Regions from separate parts of the Homo sapiens genome. Here region 1 is linked to region 2. The links are contacts of gene promoters, found by promoter capture Hi-C in human tissues and cell types (Jung and others, 2019). All regions are on one chromosome and are shown on one strand. Each heading gives the region's core, a stretch centred on a gene start or on the middle of the fragment in contact. The rest is flanking DNA. Distances are from core to core; before and after follow the strand shown.

Region 1 (6,756 bases), core at 734-3,233, 43 kb before region 2:
TCAGGTATCGGGGGAAGAAGAACAGATATATTCTAATTGCTTTTTCTCTGACTTTTAAGGATCAAGAGAGAGACCATTTCAAACCTTCTTGCATCCCAACTGCTCCTCCTTAACTAATCAGAAACCTAGAGATATACACTTACTATACAACCAAGGAGATGAGCTTGGGAAAAACCAGGACAAATGTCAAGTATTACTCAGCGAATTACACAGTGGGCTCCTCTGTGAACCTCCAAGAACCTAGAAACCCAAAGCCATGAGCCCTTTGGCTGGGTATGTTAGAAATGCCCATAACTGGGAGCTTACATACCTGGGTTTCAGCGCTGGCTGTGTCATTAACTGATTTTTTTTTTTTTTTTTTGAGATGGATTCTCACTCTGTCACCCAGACTGGAGTGCAGTGGCATGATCTCGGCTCACTGCAACCTCTGCCTCCCGGGTTCAAGCGATTCTCCTGCCTCAGCCTCCCAGCTGGGATTAGAGGCATGCGCCACCATGCCCGGCTAATTTTGTATTTTTAGTAGAGATGGGGTTTCTCCATGTTGGTCAGGCTGGTCTCAAACTCCCAACCTCAGGTGATCCGCCAGCCTCGGCTTCCCAAAGTGCTGGGATTACAGGCATGAGCCACTGTGCCTGGCCATTAAGTGACTTTTTGATCCTAGATAAATCATGTCAGCCTTTCTGAGCATTAGTCGCATCAACCACATAATGCCCACCTTGCCTCTTTCTCATGGGTGTTTCAGATATGACATTAGATGTGGCAAAGCTTCCAATCTGAAGAATTCTAATAAATCTGAGTATTATGTATTAAATGGACTGATACGCAGAACAATTTCTGGAATTGAAGGTTGAGGATGTCAGAGGGAGAGAGGGGAACCCAGGGACCTTAAAAACTATTGACTAAAATAATGTGAAGCTAAAGCCCCAGAAAGGTAAACTTCCCTCATAAATTAGCCACGGATATACAATTTCATTAAGGGAAATATCATATTATCTTCAACTGTGGTTAAAATTCAGTCTAAGGGAGAAAGGACTGATTAAGCCTTCCCAAAACAAGCCTAGCAGCATTCTCCTTTTTTATTATTTACTTTCACAATAAGCAGCAATATCCCAAGCTATCACTCAGCATCATTGTTTTCAAATTCAATTACATGGAAACCAGAAATATGGTGAGGCTGGATCAGGTGGGGAGAAGTTTCAATTTTAATTAGAACAGGATTTTATTATAAATGAATAAATCAACACACTCTTTAAGGAATTTAATTAGAAAAGGAGATAGCATCCCTTCCATTGGCCAAGCTGGCTCTGGATCTTGTGCAGGCAGAGAGGTTAGTGGTTGGTTTCCAGCTTTCCCCAGTCAGCTTGCTTCTCTATTTATGAACCCCCCACAAGCATCATACAGAATGTTTCTTCTTCTACTCTCAACTTTTTCACCTTAAAATAAGAGCTCTTTTTTTTTTTGTTTGGCCCTTTCTGTCTTATGATGTAATATGTCACTTTGTCCCTTTTTATTCTGTAATGTTTCTTTCCCGGATATCTCCTGGTGTCTTCCTGAGTTTTATTAGGATTATTCAGAAGGCAAGGCCACAGGATCAATATATTTTAGGCAAAACCTGGAAGCTATGCCAACAGCATTCATTGCACCACAGTGTCCCATGAAATCTTTGAGATGTGTGGAAGGACCTAAATACCCATCTTGGAGAAGGCATGTGTCTTCTTGGACCATAACTTACTTGGTGATCTTCAGCACATGTCTTCCCTCCCTTCTTTGGGAAGAGATATCTTCCTCCAGATACTGCCAGGCTTGATGTTTTGTCACTCTGTGAACAAATGCTGTAGTGACTAGGAAGTGAGTCTTCATGCTTCAGTATTCAGCAGTCTCTGCTACGTGGAGAGCTTCTCAAAGTTTTTCTCAGATATCATTTTCAAAATTTGACTTTGTCGTTTTGAACATAGAATTCTCTCCTCCATCTCTGTGTCCCTAGCCCCATATAGGTAACCATTTTTATTGATTTTTTTTTTTGTTCATCTTTCCAGTCTTTCATTGAACAAAGCAAAAAATGCACATTTCTTACGCAAAAGGGAGCACACTGTGTACACTATCCTGCATCTTGTTTTGTTTTGCTTTCTCCCACTTAATATATCCTGGAGATCATTCCATGTCAGTGCACTGTCTCCCTTGTTCTTTGTTCCAGCTACATTGTGTGGCTGTACCATCATTCACTTAACTTGTCTTCTGTGGATATCTATGGAATCAATTCCCAGCAGTTGTACTGTTGATCTGGATCTGGGTGTGTGCCCCTCCTCTGTGATCCCATAACACCTTGGTTTCACCCTGACCATCAAATTGCTCTTGTTCTCTGCTGCTTATCCCTTAACACCAGAGATCATGGTGTTTCATACTGAATCCTTGGCACATGGTAAGTGCTTACTGAATCCCTACTGAAATGCTGGGTGAATGAATGGACTGTGACTGCTGAGATTGAATCCCAACATAGTTCTTTTTTTTTCCTTTCTTTTTTTGAGACAGAATCTCACTCTGTTGCCCAGGCTGGAGTGCAGTGGCACAATCTCTGCTCACTGCAAGCTCCGCCTTCCGGGTTCACGCCATTCTCCTGCCTCAGCCTCCTGAGTAGCTGGGACTACAGGTGCCCGCCTCTACACCCGGCTAATTTTTTTGTATTTTTAGTAAAGACGGGGTTTCACTGTGTTAGCCAGGATGGTCCCAATCTCCTGACCTCATGATCCGCCCCCCTTGGCCTCCCAAAGTGCTGGGATTACAGGAGTGAGCCACCCCGCCAGGCCTGAATCCCAACATAGTTCTAAGCAAAAGGTATGAGGTAGCCAAAGTATCTTCCTGAAGGGGGCTTGAGGTGAGTCTTGAAGAATCAGGTTTGGGTGGGCATAAAGGGGAAGAGGATTTCTCTGAGGGGCAAGTGAGCAAATCAGGGAATGAAGAGAGGGTGAGAAGAGAGTGGTGACATCCTCTGACTGCCAGTGTTTCCCTACAGCTGGTTAGCAGAACAGAGGTCATACAGTTCTGTGAGGGTAATTGATAATACAAATGTGGTACCAACTGGCAGTGGGTGTGATCTGTGTGTGCCAGTGAATTTGAGAGGTGAGTAGAGGAGCAGCCCAGAGCACAGGTGATGAACAAGCCTAGATTTGTAAACCTGAGTCTGTCCTGCAGCCTTCGCTATACAACCACAACACCAAAATACTTGCCTCTTTATTTCTGCTTATTCTCCCCATTTCTAATAAGCTAGAGCCTTTATGTTGGAAAAGAGCTTAGAATTTATCCTGTCTACCATCCCCCTAGTGGAATGTAAGCTCAATGGAGAAGGAAGGAAGGGAGGCAGGGAGGGAGGAAGGGAAGGAGGAGTGCCCCTTATCCTATCCTTATTTGGCCTAATTGAGTTTTTCTATACCATTCTCTGTGGTGAGGGAGGGAAAAGGAGGGTCTGTCTGGGTTGCACAGTATTACACAGCTGGGGAAAATAGGATATTTATGGATTATGGATAAAGACTATACTCATACTCAGAAGAATAACATGAAATTCAGAATTCCTTTGATACGTAACTCAGTATTTGATGAGAAGGTGAATGAATGAATGAGGCAACCAGATATACTAGAAAATGTTCAAAAAGGTTTTGGAGTCAAAGAAACTTGAATTAATTTCTATAATGTTGGATCACTGAGCCTTTCTGTGCCTCGGATTCTCACCCACCAAATGACGATAATACCTAATTGCAGGATTTTAATCAGACAGCATATGCCACATGCCTTTTTGAAAGGTGCCCTTTTGATGCTGGCTATGTTATTATTATAAATAAATTTCCCAAGAAAGGCTCAGTGAGGTGTAGCTCTGGTGTGATGCAGTGACCAAAGCCTGGAAGGCAATCAACCCAGACATTTTTCTTTTACCTTCAAGACAGTAATGGAAAGCTTTTGGAGAGAAAGGGAAAGCACATGGGATGGATAGGGGATCCATATTCTAGGATTTCCTGGGTTCACCCTCATATTTACTATTGTAGAACACTACCATATTTCTGGACATTTAAACAACATGAGGACAGAGTGTTTTTGCTCATGCTTATGTCACTAGTGCCTAGAACAGTGCCCGGCACGCAGGAGGTACCTAACAAACATTTATCGAATGAGTGAAAGACATTGGTCCTGAAATAAATCATTCTCTTCATTCGAAACTTAGCTGGATTTTCAGAACAAAGCATAAGCGAAACAATATTTCTAGTACCTTTCTCAAATGTTAAAAAGACGGATCTTTTTTTTAAAAAAATTGTCACTTCAGTGCCATAAAATATCTCTTTGGTTCTCCTGGGAGTGCAAAGTTCACTCACATAATACAGTCAAATTACAAATGTTATTCAGTATAATACCAGTTGGATCATAAGATGAATGAAATTATGGGCTAAAACAGCTCTTTAAGTTCTGCATTTGTTGAAGATGAAAGAGCAAAATGAGCTTAATTCCTTGGTCCCAGGGTGAGATGATATTTAGCCTGGATAATACTCCTGGATTTACAACTAACTATGTCAAATTATACTTTCCCTTTTTCCCCCGCTTCTTTAAATTGACTGCTCAAATGTGCTATGCTTCTGAGCAGTATTTTTTAAAAGAAACTGGATAATGGCTTTGGGGTGGGAAGAGTGTTCTACCTTTTCAGAACACAGTGCCTTAGGTTTAAGAACATCTGTTTTAAGAGTTGCCTTTAAGAGGAAGGTTTGTATGTGAGATTCTATGAAAGGGATATGTGCTTCTAAAAGAATCTATAATCAATGTTGAGTTAAATTGGTGGTGATAGACATTCTTGATTGTTGTTGATATTTAAAGGGAATACTTCCAGTGTTTCTCCATTCAGGATGATGACGTTTGTTGTAACTGTTTTGTTTTTAGTTTTGTTTTGGGGTAGATTAACTTAATCAGGTTGTGGAAGTTGTCTTTAAGCCTCCTTAACTAAGAAGGGTTTTTTTAGAATCACGTAGTCATGTTGAATTTTATCAGAAGTTACATATGCATCTTTTGGGATGATCATATGGTTTTTGCCTTTAATGCCTTAAATGAAAGATACTTATATATTTTAAAAATTAAACCAGTCTTACATCCTTGAGATAAACCCTATATAGCTATGATATTTTTTGTAAATAATGATCCGTTTAGTCAGCTAATGTCATATTTAAGATTTCTGTATCTATATTGATTTATTAACAAATTTTATTTTTTATTAACCATTTTAATAAATGAGTTGAAATGTGTCAGCGACATTATTTTCTTGTACTTTGTCGTGTACTTTGATGTCAAAATAATACTGATCTCATAAAATGAATGGGAAATATTCCCTATTTTTCAGTTCTTTATAAGTTGTATAAGTTAGAATGATTTAGCCCTTGAATTTGTGAGAAAATTTGTTAATATATCAGGGTTTGATGTTTTGTTTGTAGGCAGATGGTTAGTGACTTTTATTAATAGTTTATTACTAGTTTATTTCATTACTAGTTATAATACTCTCAGGCTTTATTGCACTATCAATTCTGATAAATTTTATAAATTATATGGGAATATATCCCTTTTGTCTAAGTTTTCATGTTTATTGACATAAACCACCTGATTGGGTTTGCTTATCGTTTTAGTCTCTATTGTATCTGTAGTTATTTGTCCTTTTTATTAATAATATTATTTATCATTTCTCTTTTTTTAAGACTTCCTAGTGGTTTGCCAATTTTGTCTTTTCCAGAAACCAACTTTTAACTTGGCTGAACCTATTGTATCGTGCCCCTCTACCACCACCCCATTTTATTAACTTTTGTTATTTTTATCATCCTCTTCTTTCAACTTATGTTATCTTATTCTTCTTTTAAACTTTTCAGAAAGACACTAAGCTTGTTCATTTTTGATGTTTCTGTTTTTCTATCTTCTGTCTTTTTTATTTATTTTTGGGGCTCAAGAATTTTTGTGTTGGGTTTAAAAACTTTTTTTTAAATTCACTTGCTTTTGGTTTGGTGGGGGGGTGTAGATATTATGATATGTTCATAGAAAACCCAAAAGAATGTGTAGACAGTTACTAGAAATAATAGGAAAGTTTTACAAGGTGACTGGATATAAGATCAATATAATAATGTTAATTGCATTTTTATATAACAGTAATAATAAACTTTTTAAAAAGTCCTTCTTGACCTGAGGGAAGAGAAGAGAAAGGATCCTTAAATCAGATGCAAAAAGCATTAACATTCCTTGAAAATTAGGAGCTTCTATTCATCAATGGACACCCTAGAGAAAATTAAAAGCCAAAATACAACCCAAAAAAAGACATTGGTATTACATACAGCCAACAAATATTAGCACCATGTATATATAATAATCTTCTATGGACTAATACGAAGACAACAATATAATAGAAAAAGGGGAAAGACGTAAGAAGGCATTCTAAAGAATAGAAAACAAATATCGGTAATAAACACATGAAGCGCTCTACGGTCAGCAGGTGGCGAAGCCAGCCGGGCTTGTGTCCTTTCCCTCAGGATGGTGAGTTTCCCCCATCCTCAGTCAGGTCCAGAGATGCCATCCAGGAGCCAGGGCCTGGAGTCAGAAGCCTTAGGAATCTGCCTGGTGCTCTCTTCTACTGTGGCTGAGCTGGCACCCAAGCTACTAGACAGAGTCCTTCCCACTCTTACCTCCCCTTTCCACAAACCAAGGAGTCTCTTCCCATGACCACCACTGCCCTAGGCCCATGACAAGTAC
Region 2 (6,639 bases), core at 101-2,600:
GGAGGGAGGGAGAGAAGGAGCCTGAGGCAGATATGGAACGATCTCTGCAGAGGAATTACAAAGAAAGTCATTTAAGCCCCTTTACAGACCAGCTCTGCTGGGAGGATGCAGAAATAAATGATCAGCGTCCCGGCGTGAGAGAGCTGCCCCCAGAAGTGGCCGGGGGAGAAAAGGGTGAAGAGGAGCTAAAGCTTAGGAGGCGATTTCCACGGAAATGGATGCTCCCTAAGGATGTGCGGAAAGGGGATGGGAATGTGCGGATTGGGGGCGGGGGCACCAACGCACTCCGGCGGGCAAGCGGTCTCCCGCACCACCTGCTGCAAGGCTCGGGAAGGAAGGCGAAGATAGCACCGGGGCATCCCCGGGAGTCCGCAAGGTGGGTCACTTGGACTTTGCGGAAAGAAGACGAATTTGAGGGGTGTGGGGAGCAGCCAGAGGCCGAGTCCGAGGCTGGGATGGCCTTTCAGGAGAGGACGTGGGAGTATGTGCTAATAATCGGTGGCTTTGGGGAAAGCAGAATGGAGCCGGCTGGCGTTTGGGAGACAAGGAATGGAGGAGAACAACCCTCTTCCTCACCCTGATTTGCTTTCTGGTAGGACCTCACGGCAGGTGTCCCCGGGACGGCGTTCTCCTAGGCTAGGCGACCAGGGCGGTGTCAATGCACCCTCCAGCGGTGCGCGCAGGCGGGAGAAGGGAGGGCGGCCCGGGCAAGTGAGACAGTTAAGGCAGTGTCCCCACCACACCCCCACCCAGATTGGCCACGCCGAGCTGGTTCTTGACAGAAGGCCTTCGCGGAGGAAGAGGGGGCACAGCTGCACAGGACACCCTACGGAGCCTGCGGGCGTGGAACTTTGCCAGGCGCACGGGAACGCGCGCCCTTCCTGTCAGCCTCCCGGGGCGCCAGGCTCCCGCGGCCCGCAGCGGGACAGCCTCAGTTGTGTGGGCTGGACCCAGTCGCTGGGGTACCGACCAGTCCTGGAAGGCGCAGAGGACGTGGAGTGGGGAGGCTGCCTTCCTATGTGCGAAGGGCCAGCCGGGCACGCAGTCCTCAGACCCTAGTCCGCACCCGGCAGGTCCCCACGGCACCTGCTGCGCCCTCCTCGCCGCTCCCCCAACCTCCCCATCTCAGAAAACTACCAGTTCTCTCCCGCCCCCCGGCGCCCCTTTCCCAGGAACGTGCGGAGGCGGGAGAAGAGGAAGACAGGAAGGGGGTGGGGATGTGAAGCGACCGTCCCAGCCTTCCCCGCCCGCCACCCCCACCCCAACTCGGCAGCCGTCACGTGATGCCTGGAGTGGGAGGTGGGGAGAAAAGGCGAGACTTTTGTGGGTGCTCCCGATCGCCAGTAGTTCCTTCAGTCTCAGCCGCCAACTCCGGAGGCGCGGTGCTCGGCCCGGGAGCGCGAGCGGGAGGAGCAGAGACCCGCAGCCGGGAGCCCGAGCGCGGGCGATGCAGGCTCCGCGAGCGGCACCTGCGGCTCCTCTAAGCTACGACCGTCGTCTCCGCGGCAGCAGCGCGGGCCCCAGCAGCCTCGGCAGCCACAGCCGCTGCAGCCGGGGCAGCCTCCGCTGCTGTCGCCTCCTCTGATGCGCTTGCCCTCTCCCGGCCCCGGGACTCCGGGAGAATGTGGGTCCTAGGCATCGCGGCAACTTTTTGCGGATTGTTCTTGCTTCCAGGTGAGAATACCCAGAGGCCAGCAGCCGAGGCCAGGTGCGCACAATCCATCTACCCGCCAGCCCTTTTGCCCCCAAGGCGCCCACCTCGGGGCCAGCCCTGCGCTGGGGCTGCCCAGCGGGAGTTGGCGGCCGCGACTGGTGCCCCGGGGCGCGAGGCTGGGAAAGTGTCCAAGTCCCGCGCTGCAGGAGGAGAGCGGGGAGCGGCGGGTTTGCGGGACTCCGGGCTGCAGCTTGTCCGGCTGCACCGTCGGGAGAAGCTGGGCTTGAGAGGAGGGAGGGTCCGAGCGGTGCTGGGTTCTGGGCGAGGGAGAGGGGGCGACATCTCCCGAACCCTGCCAAGTTGTCTGGCGCCTCCGGCACCCCGTGGGAGTGGCGCCGCCGACAGGTGAGCGATGCGCGAGGCAGCCTGCGGCCACGCTGAAGCTGGGTTGCTGCGCTCAGAGTGCGATAGATGTGGGGCTGCGGGAGCGTGGGTAGTTGGGTCTAGACAGGAGCGCGTACACCGAGAACAGCCAGGCCGAAGCGTCCAGAGGCGCAAAGGTCTCGCGTCCTCTCTCCAGTTCGCCTACTGGCTCCCGACTAAGCTCTGCAGAGCTGGAACCCCGACCACTGACCCTAGTCGAACGGTTGTCCTGAAAGCCGGGGCCTGGAAGAAAGGGCTGCGGGGTCGGGGATCCAGGGTGCGCGCGCTCACAAACGCCCTTTCCCACCCTCTGTGGCCATTCGGGTCGCCGCGGGGACGGCCCCGGAGAAGGGCCGCCGACCCGGGCTCGGGGACTTGCGGCGCAGCAGCGCTTGGCGTCTGGCACCTCCACCCAAGTTGTTCCCAGGTGGTCGCTCAGGGATCCTCAGAGCCCTGGCACAGAAACGCTGACTTTAAAAATTAAATAAATAAAAACTAAAAAGACGTCTGCGAATGTAATCACGAATGGTGCCAAAATAGTAATTAAGTAATTTGTAACCAATTAGCAATTAGGCAAATCCTTTGGCTTAGGCTGGAGCTAACGCACATCTCCAGAGCTACTTCACTCTTGCGGTGGTACCGTCCCCACCCTCCCTTCAACTTCTTGGGAAAAGGCCTGGGGTGGTAATGGATGGGCGCTTTGTGTCTAGAGCCGGGGTCCAGGGGTGGCGGGCACTATTCCACTTTCTTCCGTAGGACCCTAGGTACCCGCGCCGCCCCCTGCCGGTGTCAGCCACATCCAGCCCTACCCGGAGACCCAGGAGTGGTCTAAGCCTGCCAGAGGCTGGGAGCCGCCTGGCTCTGAGGCGTGGGATGGTCGTGATTTCCGGGGTGGGCTCTGTGGGGGCCGGATCTGAACCCGACTGCGTCTGTCTCGCAGGCTTTGCGCTGCAAATCCAGTGCTACCAGTGTGAAGAATTCCAGCTGAACAACGACTGCTCCTCCCCCGAGTTCATTGTGAATTGCACGGTGAACGTTCAAGACATGTGTCAGAAAGAAGTGATGGAGCAAAGTGCCGGTAAGAGCCTGGCAGCCCTCCCCCTCGCTCTTAAGCCTGGGCTGTGGGGTGGGAGTGAGGGGGCCATTAAATAGCAGGAAAAAGGACTGACTTTGATTTAATGCCCACACACTGGTTATCGCAGATTTAGTTTTACAGTGCTGGGAAAATGAAGAGTTCCAAGTTACTTTAATCTCATTAGAGTTAATTACCAAGGCTTCTCCCCAAGGGTCTTGGGAGGGGAAGTGCATGTAAATTAGTGGCTCTCCTCTTTTTATTTACTCCCTTCACCTCCCTATGCTAAAAGCTGATGGAGGTAGAAAATATATGGCTAACCAGCCCTGGCTTGGGCAACTAGACAGTAGCCTGTGAGCATTGTCAGCCTGAAATATGGAGCTAGTTGAAGCTCCCAGAGGTCAGAGCTTGAAAAATGTGTTTTGTCATAGAGGCACACCATATTTCCTTGAAGAACACTACAGGATCTTTGTTTAATTTTAGAACTAATGCATCAACTTCCAGGCACAAATTGCCAAGATCTTTCAAAGGAATGCCGTTCTCAGCCCTACCAGCTTAGCTGCTGGCTAGCTGAGAAGAAGTCCTGAGCATCCTGTGGGGGAAGGGGAGGTCTTGTGGGATAGCCCTCACTCCCTCTAGTTGACCAAGAATCTTCTCACTGAGGTAGAACTTTCCAACCCTCTCCTCACCCCCTACCCCAGCTGTCTTATCAGAAGTCAAAGTTCCCCAAAGTATATCTGGAACTTTGGGAGAATAGGTAGAGCTGTTACTTCAGTTTCAAGGTCAAAACCATAAACACAGACCTTGCCATTTTAAGGATATTAAAAGGATGGGAAATAGCATAACTTGATGGCTGATAGTGAATGAACCAAAGCCCCCACTTCCTTTAGTTCTGTGAACTGCCTGCAGAGCCCGGTGAAGTGATTAGAACTGTTATATGATTCCCTTTACCCGCTGGCAAATCAATGCAAGGACTCTAGTTTCAAAGCCAACACCTTGGGAAAGTCGTTTCTTCTCAGAGAAGGGCCTGGAAATGTCATATTGCTATCCTCATGGTTATTTGGAAAGCAGATGTTAGCTTGACACTGTGTTGTGTTGTGGTGTGTGTGCAGTTGTAAGGGCTGGTTTGTATAGGTCATTATTTGTTGCACCAAAATCACTCTTCTGGGAAGCCTCAGACATACTGGCTCTCAAGGGTAACTTGTCTCGAGAAATGCGGTAAACATTATTTTGGCACGTGGGATTTGGGCTATTAATGATGCAAAACAAAACAAACTTGGCGATAATTCTTAAGATTGATAGGGATAATTTGAACAAATGGGATTTTTTTCTACTTGTGTTTCTTTCCTACGTTTTACCTGAGCAAAGAATTTACTGCCTTTCTACCAGAGGGACTGCTGTGATTTTAGTCAGAATTACTGTTAACACTTTATTGTTACTTTCAAATATTTGCAGCTTTCTTGAGACAGTAGTTTAGAGCCAGACAAAATGAGAATGTGCCGTGGACACGTTAAGAACTTCTTCAGAGTCCACAAGGCCACTGCTTACCTGGGTGTCATATTTTATCACCTGGGATATGGTTGAGAAGGGGATGTAAGCTAAATTTGAGTCAGAAGAGGTCCTTTTTCTGAGACACATTTCTTCTTCTCTAAAAGTGTATCTAAGATGAATACCACACACTCCATTTTCAAAGTGCTGTTTTTCATCTTGCTTCATTCTGTCCTCAAAACCACTCTGTAAAAGAAGCAGAGCAGGCATTTTAACTTCCATTTTATCCACAGAAACTTCAGCACAGACTTCAAGTGTCTGGCCTAAGGTTGCTCGCTTTCTATAAGCTCAGACAAGGTAGGTACCTTGTCTCCAAACCAGGCCCCTCTGGCCACAGGTCACAGCCCAACAGGTAGAGACAGAATCAAGTAATAAGGCAGTTTCAATTGTGAAGTTTGACAAACAGAAGCAGTCGATGAACTCAAAGGAAAAAGTTTTGAAGGGAAGGATGCTAGGTCGGGGTGTGTGCACATGGAAGCAAGGCATTCTAAGCCTAAACTCCACAGAAACAAGCCAAACGGATCTGTTTCTGCATCAAAAGAGCAATGTCCAGGGGGGCCTTATACCTCCAAAGCACTTCCATTTTTATGTCCATGTACTTATTAGGGACCAATTTAATTTTTTGCCAATAAGGATAGAGAGCAAACCTAAAACTTTAAGTGAACACAGTTGTAGTATAATCATCATATTAACAAGAGCTAACTGTTGTTGAGCGCCCAAGGCATCTGACTCTTTTCTGTGGGTTGCACATATAGAATCTCGTGAAATCTGGTGGTCCTCTTTCAGGATCTTGTTTCCTCATGCCACAGCCAGTCAGCATGTAATTCTATTACATGGTCAACATCTCCTCTCCAGAGAAAGTAATGCCTGTTAAATGATGCTATTAAGAATTGAAGTCAGAATTTCTTTCAAGTTTGATCAATAACATATGTTGTCCTGAGAATCTCAGCATACTAGAGCTGAAAGAGCCCAGTGACTCCTAGTTAAAGATGCATGTTGGAATCTTGCTGGGAGTTTTGTTCAACTCCACATGCCTGGGTCTCTGCTTAAAGAAGCCCATTTCATAGTCTGTGGTATATCTGGCCATGGGTCTTTTATAAACTTCCCAATGATTCTGGGGTGACCCGAGTTGAGAACTGATCTGGACAAAACTTTTTGTGTTACAGAGGAAGAAAGCAAGGTCCAGGAAAATTAGATGCTTGGTCCAAGTTCACCAGCCAACTGTTACTAAGAGGCGCTTGAAGCCTGCTTCTCAGGCCAACACCTTTGCTGTAATACCACACAGCCAGCATGTCGTAAAATATCCTGCCAGGTCTGCCTGAAAAGATAGTCCAGGCAAAGTTCAAAGAGTTTAGGCCATTTTTCATATCCACCAAGTTCACCTAACAGTCCAGGTAGACAGGCCATGAAGTGGATGTCAAAAGAATCTGGGAAGCAACCAGTGAGATTTTTAAGTTTGAGTGCTATGTGGACTTGCATTTTTTCATAGATGTGGAAAAACCAGGGCTTTAAATCGACTAAGAAAATTTAATGAACTAAGCCAGTCTGACATTAAGCAGTAATGAAAGGTGTTCTCTTTCCAAAAAATACCAGCCATGCAATATGCATAGGCCTTCAGTTTTCTGGACTAAGTCTGTAAACTCAGCTCTTAAAAATTTTGAGGCAGGTACATTTAATTTTCCATTGGGAAGTATGTTTGAAATTAACCTTTACCTATTCCCCAGAGTGACATTGCTATTATGTGCTGAGATTATTATCCACCACTCTTGTTCCCTTTGGTCATTTCTGGAATAATAAGGTACTGGCTGTGGGGAAGGGAAGGTTCATTTCAACTTCTTTCATTGTCCTTACTAATTGATATTTAAATATTTGCATAATGAATGACTTGTTCTCACTAGCTCTGCACTTAATGAGTTGGTGTCTATTTACTAGCACCCTTGAT

Evidence for each region. Contacts are between HindIII fragments. The study calls those that stand out against the background at their distance.
Region 1: a contact is called between a fragment that was not itself captured here and the fragment with the promoter of LYPD1 in region 2, in 1 of the 25 tissues and cell types used here (stomach).

Annotation. Positions count from the first base shown.
Region 1 is chr2:132,708,418-132,715,173 of GRCh38, reverse strand. The region is part of intron 19 of NCKAP5 (NCK associated protein 5); the gene reads left to right. Among named protein-coding and RNA genes, the nearest start is that of LYPD1, 42 kb to the right of the region's middle. The HindIII fragment of the contact is 5,877 bases long and covers 1-4,921 here.
Region 2 is chr2:132,664,916-132,671,554 of GRCh38, reverse strand. LYPD1 (LY6/PLAUR domain containing 1) reads left to right here and starts at 1,350. Exons shown (of 3, transcript NM_144586.7): 1 at 1,350-1,674; 2 at 3,018-3,155. The coding sequence starts at 1,623. RefSeq lists an enhancer at 1,524-2,487. The HindIII fragment of the contact is 6,763 bases long and covers 1-4,108 here.